2 separate regions of the Homo sapiens genome follow, and region 2 is linked to region 1. The links are contacts of gene promoters, found by promoter capture Hi-C in human tissues and cell types (Jung and others, 2019). All regions are on one chromosome and are shown on one strand. The core of a region is centred on a gene start or on the middle of the fragment in contact, and the rest is flanking DNA. Distances in the headings are between cores, read along the strand shown.

The links. The method cuts DNA at HindIII sites, captures the fragments that hold promoters and counts their contacts. A contact is called where the count stands out against the background at its distance.
Region 2: a contact is called between a fragment that was not itself captured here and the fragment with the promoter of SNX9 in region 1, in 1 of the 25 tissues and cell types used here (hippocampus).

The regions. Positions count from the first base shown.
Region 1 is chr6:157,821,094-157,827,458 of GRCh38, reverse strand. It overlaps SNX9 (sorting nexin 9), which reads right to left and starts at 4,213. Exons shown (of 18, transcript NM_016224.5): 1 at 4,013-4,213. The coding sequence starts at 4,024. RefSeq lists an enhancer at 3,385-3,434 and a silencer at 4,085-4,404. The HindIII fragment of the contact is 8,295 bases long and covers 1-5,592 here.
Region 2 is chr6:157,317,189-157,323,950 of GRCh38, reverse strand. It overlaps TMEM242 (transmembrane protein 242), which reads left to right and starts at 432. Exons shown (of 4, transcript NM_018452.6): 1 at 432-539; 2 at 1,146-1,246; 3 at 5,032-5,169. The coding sequence starts at 452. It overlaps TMEM242-DT (TMEM242 divergent transcript), which reads right to left and starts at 317. Exons shown (of 1, transcript NR_187268.1): 1 at 1-317. RefSeq lists enhancers at 1-149, 330-669. The HindIII fragment of the contact is 4,705 bases long and covers 1,743-6,447 here.

The DNA of each region.
Region 1 (6,365 bases), core at 2,964-5,463:
ATTATATAAACTATAATATATGTTTATATATTATATAAACTATAATATATGTTTATATATTATATAAACTATAATATATGTTTATATATTATATAAACTATAATATATGTTTATATATTATATAAACTATAATATATGTTTATATATTATATAAACTATAATATATGTTTATATATTATATAAACTATAATATATGTTTATATATTATATAAACTATAATATATGTTTATATATTATATAAACTATAATATATGTTTATATATTATATAAACTATAATATATGTTTATATATTATATAAACTATAATATATATGTATATATTATATAAACTATAATATATATGTATATATTATATAAACTATAATATATGTTTATATATTATATAAACTATAATATATGTTTATATATTATATAAACTATAATATATATGTATATATTATATAAACTATAATATATATGTATATATTATATAAACTATAATATATATGTATATATTATATAAACTATAATATATTTTATATATTATATAAACTATAATATATTTTATATATTATATAAACTATAATATATATTTATATATTATATAAACTATAATATATATTTATATATAAAATATAATATATATATAAAATATAATATATATTTATATATAAAATATAATATATATATATAATATAATATATTTATATATCATATATATATAAAACCTATAATATAAATAGGTTATATTTTGGCTGGGTCGAAATATAACCTTTGGAGGCTTCCAATAAAGGTCAAGACTAAAATGCTCTGCAGCTTTTGTATTAATATTTGTAAAACAAGACTTGATTGCACTGAGTGAGTGTATACACTTAAACTGAATGCAGCACTCTACTGAGTAAGGAGTAGAAATAGAAAATAGATAATCCCCTTAAAATGTGCAGTTACTGATTAACTTTCCTTTTTTTTTTTTTTTTCTTGAGATGGAGTCTCACTCTGTCACCCAGGCTGGAGTGCAGTGGCGCAAAATCGGCTCACTGCAAGTTCTGCCTCCCGGGTTCACGCTATTCTCCTGCCTCAGCCTCCCGAGTAGCTGGGACTACAGGCGCCCGCCACCACGCCCAGCTAATTTTTTTTGTATTTTTAGTATAGATGGAGTTTCACCGTGTTAGCCAGGATGGTCTCGATCTCCCGACCTCGTGATCCGCCCGCCTCGGCCTCCCAAAGTGCTAGGATTACAGGCGTGAGACGGCGCCCGACCCTGATTAACTTTCTTTAGCAGTGAAGGACTGTCAAACTAAAGTTCTTCTTCTAAAAGATAATTTCCTTTTTTATTGTAAAATATAGTAGTGGAGTTTTTAAAAATCCCAATAGTTCAGTGATAACCACATCCTTAATACGTAAGAACAAACAAGAAAATTGTATCTGAAGATACTATAGCCAAGTCTCTGATAAATTCAAAGGGAAATCGACATCCCTTAAAATATCCAGATACTGAATTTACTTTTCATCAGTTAATACTTATAGCAACAGCCTGAGTGCCACTGGAGCCTACATTTTTATTAAAAGTTAGTCATTACTACTAAGCACATTCTCCCCACCCCTTGAAGAAGACAAAGAAAAAACACAACTACTCAGGTGTGGGGAAGGAGTGTGCATATGGGGGAAGGGAGGAAAGCACCAACTTGACTCTCTGGGAACAATTAAAAAATGAGACTTTGGTTTGACACAAGAATCACCAGCATGTCAGAAAACAAAGGAAGGGTCTTCTTTTAATAACTGCTTCGTTGCTCTTCTTTTTCTTAAAATGGAAATGGTTTGTCACAATGTAAACATGGAAATGAGCACCATGTGGAACAGTGATTAGGCAGCCGAAAGAAACTAACAGAACTACTGGAATTTGCCTTTGGAGTGGTGTAGATAACGAAGTAGGAAGTCCTTACGCATGCTTTAAGGCTCGTGTTTAATCAAAGACACATGCAATTCGAGATTAATATACAAGAACCACTTTTCGATTTTTTGGAAAAAAATTAAGTTCAGGATTAACTATGAAATAAAAATTTCACTATATATACCTGCACTAGTTGCTAAACTGCATTCCACTTAAAGGACAGTACAGATAACATGCCTCAGTAGACCAGAGTGTAAAAACACACTGACCACCACTAGACAGATCTCTATGTCATAAACCGTCTTCTCTTTTTTCAAACGGAGTCTCGTCTTTTCTTTTTTCAAACGGAGTCTCGCTCTGTCGCCCAGGCTGGAGTGCAGTGGCGCGATCTCGGATCACTGCAACCTCCGCCTCCCGGGTTCAAGCGATTCTCCTGCCTCAGCCTCCAGAGCAGCTGGGGCTACAGGCGCGCGCCACCACGCCCAGCTAATTTCTGTATTTTTAGTAGAGACAGGGTTTCACCATATTGGCCAGGCTTGTCTCGAGCTCCCGACCTCAGGTGAACCACCCACCGCGGCCTCCCAAAGTGCTGGAATTACAGGTGGGAGTGAGCCACCGCGCCCGGCCTATAAACCGCTTTTAAGGTTGCAAGATGAGCATGTACTAGGATGTGTAACTGGTAATTTCTGGAATGTCTGGCAACAAACCTCAAAATCAAATTTCCTTAGAAATCCTTGGCCTAAGTTTTATTTTTAAAAAGGTCAACACAAAATTAATACGTTAAAAAGGTGGCAAGTTCTATCGCATTAATAAAACCAAAGCACAGCACAGGCAATAATATATTAACAAGAAGGTAATTATTTCAGTAACAGCAGCAACAGGTTCCCTGGAGGAGAATCCCCATTTCTCTACAAACGCTGCACCTAGATGGATTCAGAGCACAAAATTTACCACAGCACAACATCTAGCAGACCGAAGTCAAGCAATGCTGATCTTTCAAAGAGATTTCACATTTCTTACCATTTTCTACCTTAACACTCCACAAAAAAAGCAAACACCTATCGAAAAATAAAAAATAACGTTTCTAGCAACCCAAAAGTAGCTCAGAGATCTCAAAAACAAATAGACAAAGGGGTGCTGATGCTAACAAAGTGACATTACAAAAACTAAGTGCAAAAGTAAACCCACTCCTCACAGTGTATCACAGATCAGTTAATGGCTCAGGTATAGAGCCTCCTCCCCCAGGTCCTCCCTTCCGTGACCGTGACTTCCCCAGTGGCTATTCTACATCAAGTAACTACTGAAAACGCCCAAGGAAAAGGAGCGGGGGAGGGTGGCTTTTGAAAATTCAGGTAGCCAAGAGTGACTGCTAATTTCATAAACAATAACGTAAAACAAGCAAACCACCGCTCCTAGCCAATGACGAAGCAGGAGTCAAAGTTCCACCACGTAATTCGGGCCTGGGCCTTTTTTCAGGCAAACACGTAATCGAAAGCACAGTCATTTCCCTCTTGATATTTTATTCATGCCGGCAATGCCATTCACAATGAAAAGGTAGCAAAACAAAAGAAAAAAATAACAGCAGCGAAGGCAAAGGGGCGCGGGGCGTCCCAGCCTCGGTCCCTCCCCGGCCGCGAGCCCCCGCAGGCCGGGACGGGAAGCGCCGCGTCCTCTCCGCCGAGGTCTCGACCCCCACCCGCCCCGCGGGGGCGAGGGTCCCCCAGGCGGCAGCGGGAGGGGACGTGGGGGCGGCGGGGACGCCGGACGCCACAGAGCGCCAGTCGCCTCGGGGGCCTCCCCGGGCTGCGGGAAGTTTCCGTCCCGCGGCCCCTCCCGGCGAGCCCGCCGCAGCCCACGCTCAGGTGCAAACTTCCCAAACCTCGCTGCGCCCGGGGTCCCAACCCGCGCCCAGACCCGACGCCGTCCCCCGGTGCGATCCTGGTGGTCTGTCTGCACTGCCCGCCGCACCCATGCCCAGAAGGGACTGGCTGGGCCGCGGACCCGCCCGGGGACTCCACCGAGGAAGCGGAGTGGCCCCTCGACCACCCCTGGCCCCGACCCTCCCCGCGGCCCCGGCCCCGACCCTCTCCGCGCCGCCCCGGGCCTGAGCGACCGGCCCGGCCTGCGCCGCGCGCCCCTCACCTTGGTGGCCATGGCGGGCGGGTCCCCCGGCCCGGGACGGCCGGCTCGTCTCCCGCGCCGCGGATGGTGATTCTGAGCCGCGCAGGCAAAGGCAAGGGCGAGGGCGGCGGCTCCGGCTGGGCCCCGGCGCGGCGGCCGCTCCTCCGCCTCGGCCCCGAGTCTCGACGCTCAGGCCCAGCCGCTGGGCGCTCGGCTACTCCCGCGCCGCACGCTCCTGCAGTTCCTGAAAGTCCCCGGCTGCGCGGCCCCCGCCCCTGTCGGCCGAGCCTCCCATTTACCGCGGCGCGCGCGACGCCCGCCGGAAGCGCGCCCTGGGCCCTCGGCCGCGGCCCGGCCTCCTCGCCTCCTGGCCGCCCCCGCGCCGCGCCGCCGCCCCGGGCAGTCACCGCCGCCGCCGCCGCCGCCGCCCCCGGGCGCCCTTGGTCGAGGCTGGGAGCGGCGTCCCGCGCAGCGGCGGGGTCCGGACGGGCGCCCCAGGCCATGGCCCGCAACCCTGCGTGGCCGCCCCAGGGGAAGCGATCCGCGGCCCACAGAGCCGCTCGGGGTAGCCGAACCCCGACTCCGGTTCACGCTCGGCCGGCGCCGCACGCCGTGGCTCGGCGCTTTCCGTGCATGAGGCGGGAGGGGGCGGCAGGAACTCTCGACGCCCCGGGCAGACAGGAGCCCCGCAACCCCGCTGTCTTTGCCCCACGCCTGGGGTGTTGCGGGGTCGCCGTGCCCTTGGCCGAGTACCCTGAGTACCACATAAACAGCTGGGAAGGAGCGGAGCGATGGCTTCCTGGGCCTCTTCCTCCTGCCCGGAGGCTCCCTCAGGCCGGGGTCCTGGCTTGAAGCCCCTGGGACGGGACGGTGGGGGGTTTCGTTCTGTGACGCCCCGTTAACCTCATTCTGGAATCTTGATAAGCTTAAAAATACCGGAGGGCCCGAGAGGTTTGGGGGACAACAGGCTCTCTGAAGTGGAAACGAGGTCTCTAAAATTTTCCATCTTTCTGTCAGTGTTTCTTTCCAGAGTTGGAGATATATATATGGGTGTTATGAATAAACGAATGACTTGAATTGAGCAGCAAGATTTTTCACTCAAGGACAAAACACGACTGGAAGATGTGTCTTAATTGGCATACTAGTGGAGTGCTTTTTTATTATTATGAGGGATATATTTGTAAGAAGAGACAACTATCAAATGTAAATCTCTGGTGTTTAATGTCAAGTTTGTGTCTTCTTAAATACATTCTATTTGACCTGAGATTTCACTAGTTATATTCAATAATGGGGTTTAAAATAGATACGGTATTGCAGAATTTTCTGTGAATTTTTGTGTTTGTTGAGCTCATGGTTAAGCTATAGTCATCATAATATGCATAAATAGTTGTCTTTCTCCGTAAAAAAAAATATTGGGAGGCCAACATTCATTGACGGCCTGCTTGCTGTATACTAGGCTTCCACATCCCCATCTCATTTAATCCTTATAAGAAACATTTGAGAAACTCATTATTGTCCACTGTTTACAAAGAAGAGCGACTCAGGGATCACTTAAATAACTTGCCCATTTGGTAATACTTATTCAAATCGAAAATGACCGTAGCCTTGGACCCAGCAGCCCTCCTGGGAATTTATCCTGTCAAACACTTGTACAAGTGTTCAAAGATGTTCATCAAAGATTGTTCTGTAATAACTCCAACCAGAAAGCAACCTATGTGTTTGTTAACAGGACTGTTTCAGTAAATAAGATACATCCATTCAAACAAAAATACTAGGAAGCCCGTAAGAAAATGATAATATTCTAAGAGGTGTTAAGAAAGATAAAAAGAACATTATGTATGGTACATTTATGTAAAAAAAAAAAAAAAAAGGAAATATGTGACACATTCCTAGAAAATTTCTGAGAAAGATTCGCCAGATCCTGTTGTCAGAGTTTTTGACCATGTGTATATATGACTTCATTTAAAAACAGCAGTTATATTTTAATAAACAATGGAAGAAATAACTTGGCTAAGAGCACACACTAGTATGTGGAAAAGCCAGGATTTGAACTCAGGCAATGTCATAAGTAATGAGTTTTCCATATTCTTTTAAATGTGAAGGCTGGGTACAGCTCTCTCTGCAGCCGTTCAACAATGCATCCCTTGATAGGAAGGTGCAAAGTTAGGGGCACACCTGTGAAGACAGGCCTTTCCACATGCTCATCTGGCAAATCCTATGCAAATAGTCATCCTGGGCACCCAGCACCATGAAAGCAAGAAGACTAGAGACTTCAAGCTTTTCCCACCAGAACAATTTCATAACCCTGGTTTTATTTTTTAGAAGTAATGGTGGAGGGCTAAGGTGGAAGGATTGCTTAAGCCCAGGTGTTCAA
Region 2 (6,762 bases), core at 2,846-5,345, 500 kb after region 1:
AGAAGACCTAGGCTTGCGTTTTAGAATCGTGGAGTGTTAGCGCTGGCCAAATCGTTGGACACAATGTAAGCTTGATCAGGAAAATGAGCTCCAGGGTCTCACAGGCGGGGCCTGGAATCTTGGCGCAATCTGCGACCCTCACTGCCTCCTACAGTCGGGGCTGAGCGTTCTTTCAAACAGCCAAAGTAATCACTTAAGTCCAGCAATGATCTCCTTGGAGAAATCAAAAGATCCTCCCTAAGAGACGGCCTTGGAGGGCATCGCCCCTGGGGCTGGGCACAGCACGTCTTCCCGGCCCCGGCGCGGGAGGAGGGTTTGGGGACAGCGGCCGCACTCCGGACCCTTCTTCAGATTGCACAGGAGGAGGCGGTAGCGGAACCTTTCTCCTCCGCCTGGTTCTCGCTTCCACCCGGGCCCAGTTGGGGACGGACGCACTAGAGGCGACCTAAACATGGAGACAGCGGGCGCTGCAACTGGGCAGCCGGCCTCTGGGCTGGAGGCTCCGGGGTCCACGAATGACCGGCTTTTCCTGGTTAAAGGTAAGATGTGCTGTGGTGAGGTGCGGGCGTCGGGGTGAGTTAACCCCGGACCCTGGCTTGCTCTGGAGCGGGCATTCCCACACACATCCCGCTCTGAGAGCCCTTAGCTTGTGCTTGCCCCTGAGTTTAGCCCGCGGAGTCTGGCGGCCCAGGGAGGGTAGGTCGCTTACTGGGTGGAGTCTCCCCTTGGGCGGGGCGGGGGGCAGATCCCGCGAGCTATTCTCCCGGGCGTGCCATATTTCCCCGTCACCTCTGCAATTGTTCTAGAGCCTTGCCTTTTCTGATTGCCATCGTCTCTTCTCCTCCCCGTGAGAAACTTCACGCTGTGGTCCCAGGGGAGAGGGGAAGGGAAGCTGAACCTTTTCTCTGCGCTCGGGAATAATAATTCGGAATGACCCAAGGAACCAGAGGTCGTGCGGTCACGCGTGTTTCTCAGCCGCTGTCATTTACTGTTAGCAAGAGCTGCTTAGCCATGGTTTCTTGAATTTCAAAAGTGATTTTGATTGTAACTCGAATAGTATCTTAAACTTACTTTTGTACATCTTTTTAACCTCTTTTTATTTAATTTTTTTTAATATCCCCCCTCCTCCCCGAAACTCTTGGCAGGTGGAATTTTCCTTGGTACCGTTGCTGCAGCGGGAATGCTAGCTGGATTTATTACAACATTATCATTGGCTAAAAAGAAAAGCCCTGAATGGTTCAATAAGGTTGGTGACACTGAAATCCATTCATAGCATTGTTATTGTTTACAATATATGGCAGCTTTTGCGTAGAAAAAATAAAATATTGATGGTCTTTCACATTGCTTTAAGATGTGAATTTATATACGCTCATGGATTCTAGAAATGTACAAATTAACCAAGTCTTTATTTTCATTTAGAAGGATGTACTTATGTGCTTTCTTAAATTTTAGCGGAACAAGACTTTGAAAGCTTATCTGGTACATTTCCTATTCACAACATGACTTTGAATCTAAATTTGGGCCAGGCATCGTGGTTCATGCCTGTAATCCCAGCACTTTGGGAAGCCGAGAGGGGCAGATCACCTGAGGTCAGGAGTTTGAGACCAGCCTGGCCAACATGGCGAAAACCCATCTCTACTAAAAATACAAAAATGAGCCAGGTGTGGTGTGGCACTCCTGTAGTCCTAGCTACTCGGGAGGCTGAGGCAGGAGAATCACTTGAACCCAGGAGGCTGAGGTTGTAGTGAGCCCAGATAACACCACTGCACTTCAACCTGGGTGACAGAGCGAGACTCTGTCTCAAAAATAAATAAATAAATATTCACACAAATAACTGTGTAATTACAATTTGATGTGTGCTATGGAGGAAAAGTGTTACGTAAAACATCATAAAAAGTCAAGTTTCCTTTCCACTTACATTTATCTTTAATAATCATACTTAAGCCTTATCGATACCATAATGGCAAGAGACCATGTTTAAAGTGTGCTTGGATCCCCTCTGAATGCTCTAAGCTTATATGGAGCTTCCTAAATCACTGCTATGGACCTTGTGGGTCATTTTCTCTCTATGTTATAGAATGTTTTCAGAGCAGAAATATATTTTGTGGTGGAAATCAGAGTAGTGCCTTAACAGTAGAGTTTTGGTTGATTTCTAAGCCTAAGTTATGTTAATCCTTGGCTCACTGATCTTTTTAATAATCTGATGAAAACTAGGGATTCTCTGGGGCTGAAGAGCGCACGTACACATATCACAACTTTCCATCCTATTTTGTTATTCTGAGATTTGATCATCACAGATGCTCTTCGGGGTCTAACAGTGGTTTTCAAACTGCAGTCCACAGAACCCTGCTGATCCTTGATCCTTGGGTCCATGAAGTCAGAACTATTTTCATAATGATACTAAGATGCTTGTACTAATGGTACAGAGGCAATGGAGAGTAAAACTGCTGATACCTTGGTCTAAGGCAGTAGCACCAAACTGTGAAAGTCCTTGTGTCCTTCATTACAAAGTACCTGTATTTTTTAAAGCCAGTATTACTTAACAGTGTCCTTGTTGAAGAAATAAAATAGTTAATTTTATTAAATCATGACCTTCAAATAAACCTCATTTTAATATTCTGTGTAAAGAAATGGGAAATACAAGGCCGGGCGAGGTGGCTCACGCTTGTAATCCCAGCACTTAGGGAGGCCAAGGCGGGCGGATCATGAGGTCAGGAGACTGAGACCATCCTTGCTAACACGATGAAACCCCGTCTCTACTAAAAATACAAAAGAATTAACTGGGCGGGTGGCGGGTGCCTGTAGTCCCAGCTACTCGGGAGGCTGAGGCAGGAGAATGGCGTGAACCCGGGAGGCGGAGCTTGCAGTAAGCCGAGATTTCGCCACTGCACTCCAGCCTGGGTGACAGAGCGAGACTCCGTCTCAAAAAAAAAAAAAAGAAAAAAAAAAAAAGAAATGGGAAATAAATACATAAAGCATTTCTATTTTATACTGAAGTAGGATTTTTTCTCTAGAAAAGCAATTGAATTGCAAGCTGAACTAGCCACTTTTTTCCTATAGAATATCATTTTTACTTGAAAGAATATTTGGCAGACATCTTAACAATGAATAAAATGAGCTTGTCTTTTCAAGCAAACAATTGTCAGTATTTATTGCCACTGATAAAATTCAAGCTTTCAAGTGAAAATTAGATTTTAGAAAACTTTTATCCCAGCACTTTGGGAGGCTGAGGGAGGCGGATCACTTTAGGCCAGGAGTTTGAGACCAGCCTGGGCAACACGGTGAAACCCCATCTCTACTAAAAATACAAAAATTAGCTGGGCATGGTGGCATGCACCTGTAATCCCAGCTACTTGGGAGGCTGAGGCACAAGAATTGCTTGAACCTGGAAGGTGGAGGTTGCAGTGAGCTGAGATCACGCCACTACACTCCAGCCTGGGTGACAGAGCGAGACTCCATCTCAAAAAATATAAATAAATAAAAGACTAACAAAAATGTAAAACATTGTCTCTCTTTGCACAGTTTTGTTTTGGAAAAGTAATTTTTCATAAAAAATAGGCTTATATTAATCTAAAATGATTTACTATTTTTAAATGACTAATATAATTTAAGAATTTCATAGTTTTAATTTCTAATACATTAAATATTGATAAATACAACCCACTTAATTGAAAGTCTTTAGGGCCCAAGTGTAAAGGGATCCTGAGACCAGGTAGTTTGAGAACCCCTGTTTTAGATGGTTCTGTCTCCCTCTGGGAAAACACTGGAATTAGAGTATGACCACTTACCCAGACTCTGTTTCAGAGGTAAAATTGTTTGTAGAAGAACTCAGAGATTTTGGAGCACACAGTTAATGCGTTTATACTGAGCAAGCACCAGTCTAAGAATCTCACTTAGTCAGTGCACTTCACAGTTGCCACCTGGAGGTCTTTTCTAACATTGATAATATCTAATATTTGAGTGCTTAGCATGTGCTGGCTGTTCTTCTGCGGGCTTGACTCATTGAACTCTCCTCACACCCTATGCAGCACCGTTATGTGTGGTCCCCATTAAAGGGCAGGAAACTGAGGCACAGATGAATTAAGCAACTTGCCCAACATGGTACTCTTCCCATCTTGGGATACTTCTAGGGAAGAAATGATACAATTTTTAGTAATCTTGCTATTTAAACAGACTTCTATCCATTAGCCTGGGATTCTAGGTATTAAAACAGATTCAAATTGCAACCCCAGAGGACATTAAAATGATAAACTTTTCAGTTGGGGACTGCCTACACTGCTTTTATTTTGGGATGATAGTTATCCTTTTAATGTCCTGTTCTCATTTTCTTAGCTGTGTGTCATGCAAAACAACTGGGAGTTGAAAAGCAATAATAGATGCTGAATGGACATTCATTTTTCTTTGTAGTTCCCTGAATAAACAGAAAGAGGAAGGTGCAAGCTAAAAGTGGCGAAGTAATTTACTCTTGAGCTTCTTTGGTCGATCTATTAAAATAGATCAACATTTTTGTTAACTAGTCTATCCTGCATTTATACATCAGTCTCATAATCGGTAGACTAAATGAGGTGCTATGAGAGAAAATAACATGTATTATATGTCTATTTGGTTAAAATAACTGAAGAAAGTACATAATGTTTACACACATGCAAAGTTTACTTATCTGAAATATCTGGTGCCCTTGCTCATCTTAATATTATGGCAGGAAAAACATTCATAAAATAACTGAGTTATTTTAATACCACTTTAATGTCATTCTGTGAAAATGCCAATGAATGGGGGATAGAGAAATCTTGACAAAATGGTCTAGGATTTTTCTGGAAGAATTAACAGGCAAGGTGCCTTGCATACTCAAATATCTGTGAGTCAGAGAAGGCATGCAATTATTAAGTAGCAAAGCCAGAATTAGACCTTGGGTTGATTTAGCTTCCTAATATCATGTTGTTTGCACAGAGAGGAATTTGCAAACACCCCCAGAATGCTTATTCTTTCTGCACTGATTGTTTTTACCTCAACTTTTCTGTTTCATTTCAGGGAAGTATGGCCACGGCTGCATTACCGGAAAGCGGGTCTTCCCTTGCCTTGCGAGCTCTGGGCTGGGGCTCCCTGTATGCATGGTGTGGGGTTGGTGTGATTAGCTTCGCAGTCTGGAAAGCTTTAGGAGTTCACAGTGTAAGTAACTACTGTCTTGTCCCTGGTATCTACATGTTTATTCTGCTTACTGTGTTCTAAATTTTTCTGGTTTTCAAATTTATTTGCATGTAGTTTGGTCACTGTCTAGGGAGATGATGACAGAGTACGTGACTAAATTCTTACAAATAACTAGACAACTTCTTATTACTAATAAATACAATTTTTGAAGGTGGTAAAACTTCAAATATAATTAAGTAATGACTAATTTATAGCTAATGTTCTATATAAATTGACATTAGGGCGAGTGCAGTGGGTTATGCCTGTAATCCCAGCACCTTGGGAGCCTGCGGCAGGCAAATCACTTGAGCTCTGAAGTCCAAAACCAGCCTGGGCAATGTAAAGAAACCCTGTCTCTATAAAAAAATTAGCTGGGTGTGGTGGCATGCGCCTATAGTCCTAGCTACTCAGAAGGCTGAGGGAGGAGGATCACCTGAGCCTCACAGGCTGAGGCTGCAGTGTGCCAAGATCATTGCGCTTCAGCCTTGGCAGCGGGGTAAGACCCTGTCTCAAAAACAAAGTAGAATAAATAAACAAATTGACATTAGCGATTTGTTCAATAAAATTATTAATTTGGAACAACTTTCTATTGCTGTTTGACATATATATATAATCTTTGTAAAAGTTAAAGCATTTTAAAATTAATTATTTAAATTACTAATGTGTTATTTACACATTTTTGGAAAAAATCCTAAAATCTTGTGTGTCTGTGTCTGTGTTTGTGTATATATGTAAAATTTATACTTCAAGCTACAGAGCATTACATTAAGAATGACTGCCTTCTTTTTTTAAACAACTGGTTGGAAGTTCTGTGGACCGGACCCTTCGTGACTGGTGAGAATTGGCAGTAGTTTGAGATAGGTGGCAGCGGTAAAGTTGATGAAAACAGATGTCGATATATTTTGAAGGTCAAGTCAGCAAAGATTTGTTGTTGATTGGATGTGGGGTGTGAGAAAGAGTGAAGTTGGATGTCATCAAGACTTTTGGCCTGAGCAACTGAAGGATGGGTGGGGAGCAGTGTGAGAAAAGGAGGTATTGGGAGATAATGTCAGGAGCTCAATCTGACTTGTGAGGTTGACACATCCGTTTGATAGTGAGATGGAGAGCAAGTAAGCAGTTAGATATAGAAGTTGAGAGTTAGGGGAGAAGTACAAGGTGAAGATTTGAATTTGAGACTCATCAGTATATGGCTAGCATTTAAAGCTGTGAGACTAGATTAACTCACCAAGGCAGTGAAGGTTGAAAGAAAAGAGAAGAGGTCTGAGGAAGGAACTCTTGGGGACTCCTAATGTTAAGAGGTTGGGGAATGAGGGGAAAGTACCCTACTGAAGAGGGAAATCTCCTTGGCCTGGTGACTTGGACACCCGGTGAAGAAAACACTTCAAGGAGAAGTGACTGACTGTGTTGTATGCTGGTGATAAGTTACGTAAGATGAGGACTGATGATTCACCCGGTTTGGCAGTGTGACAGCCATTGGTGAAATGGTGGAGTGAAGCCTGAGTGATTCAAAAGAGAATAGAGGAGAATCAGAGGCAGTATATCTAGGTGAGTCTTGAGTTTTGCCACAAAGTGAAG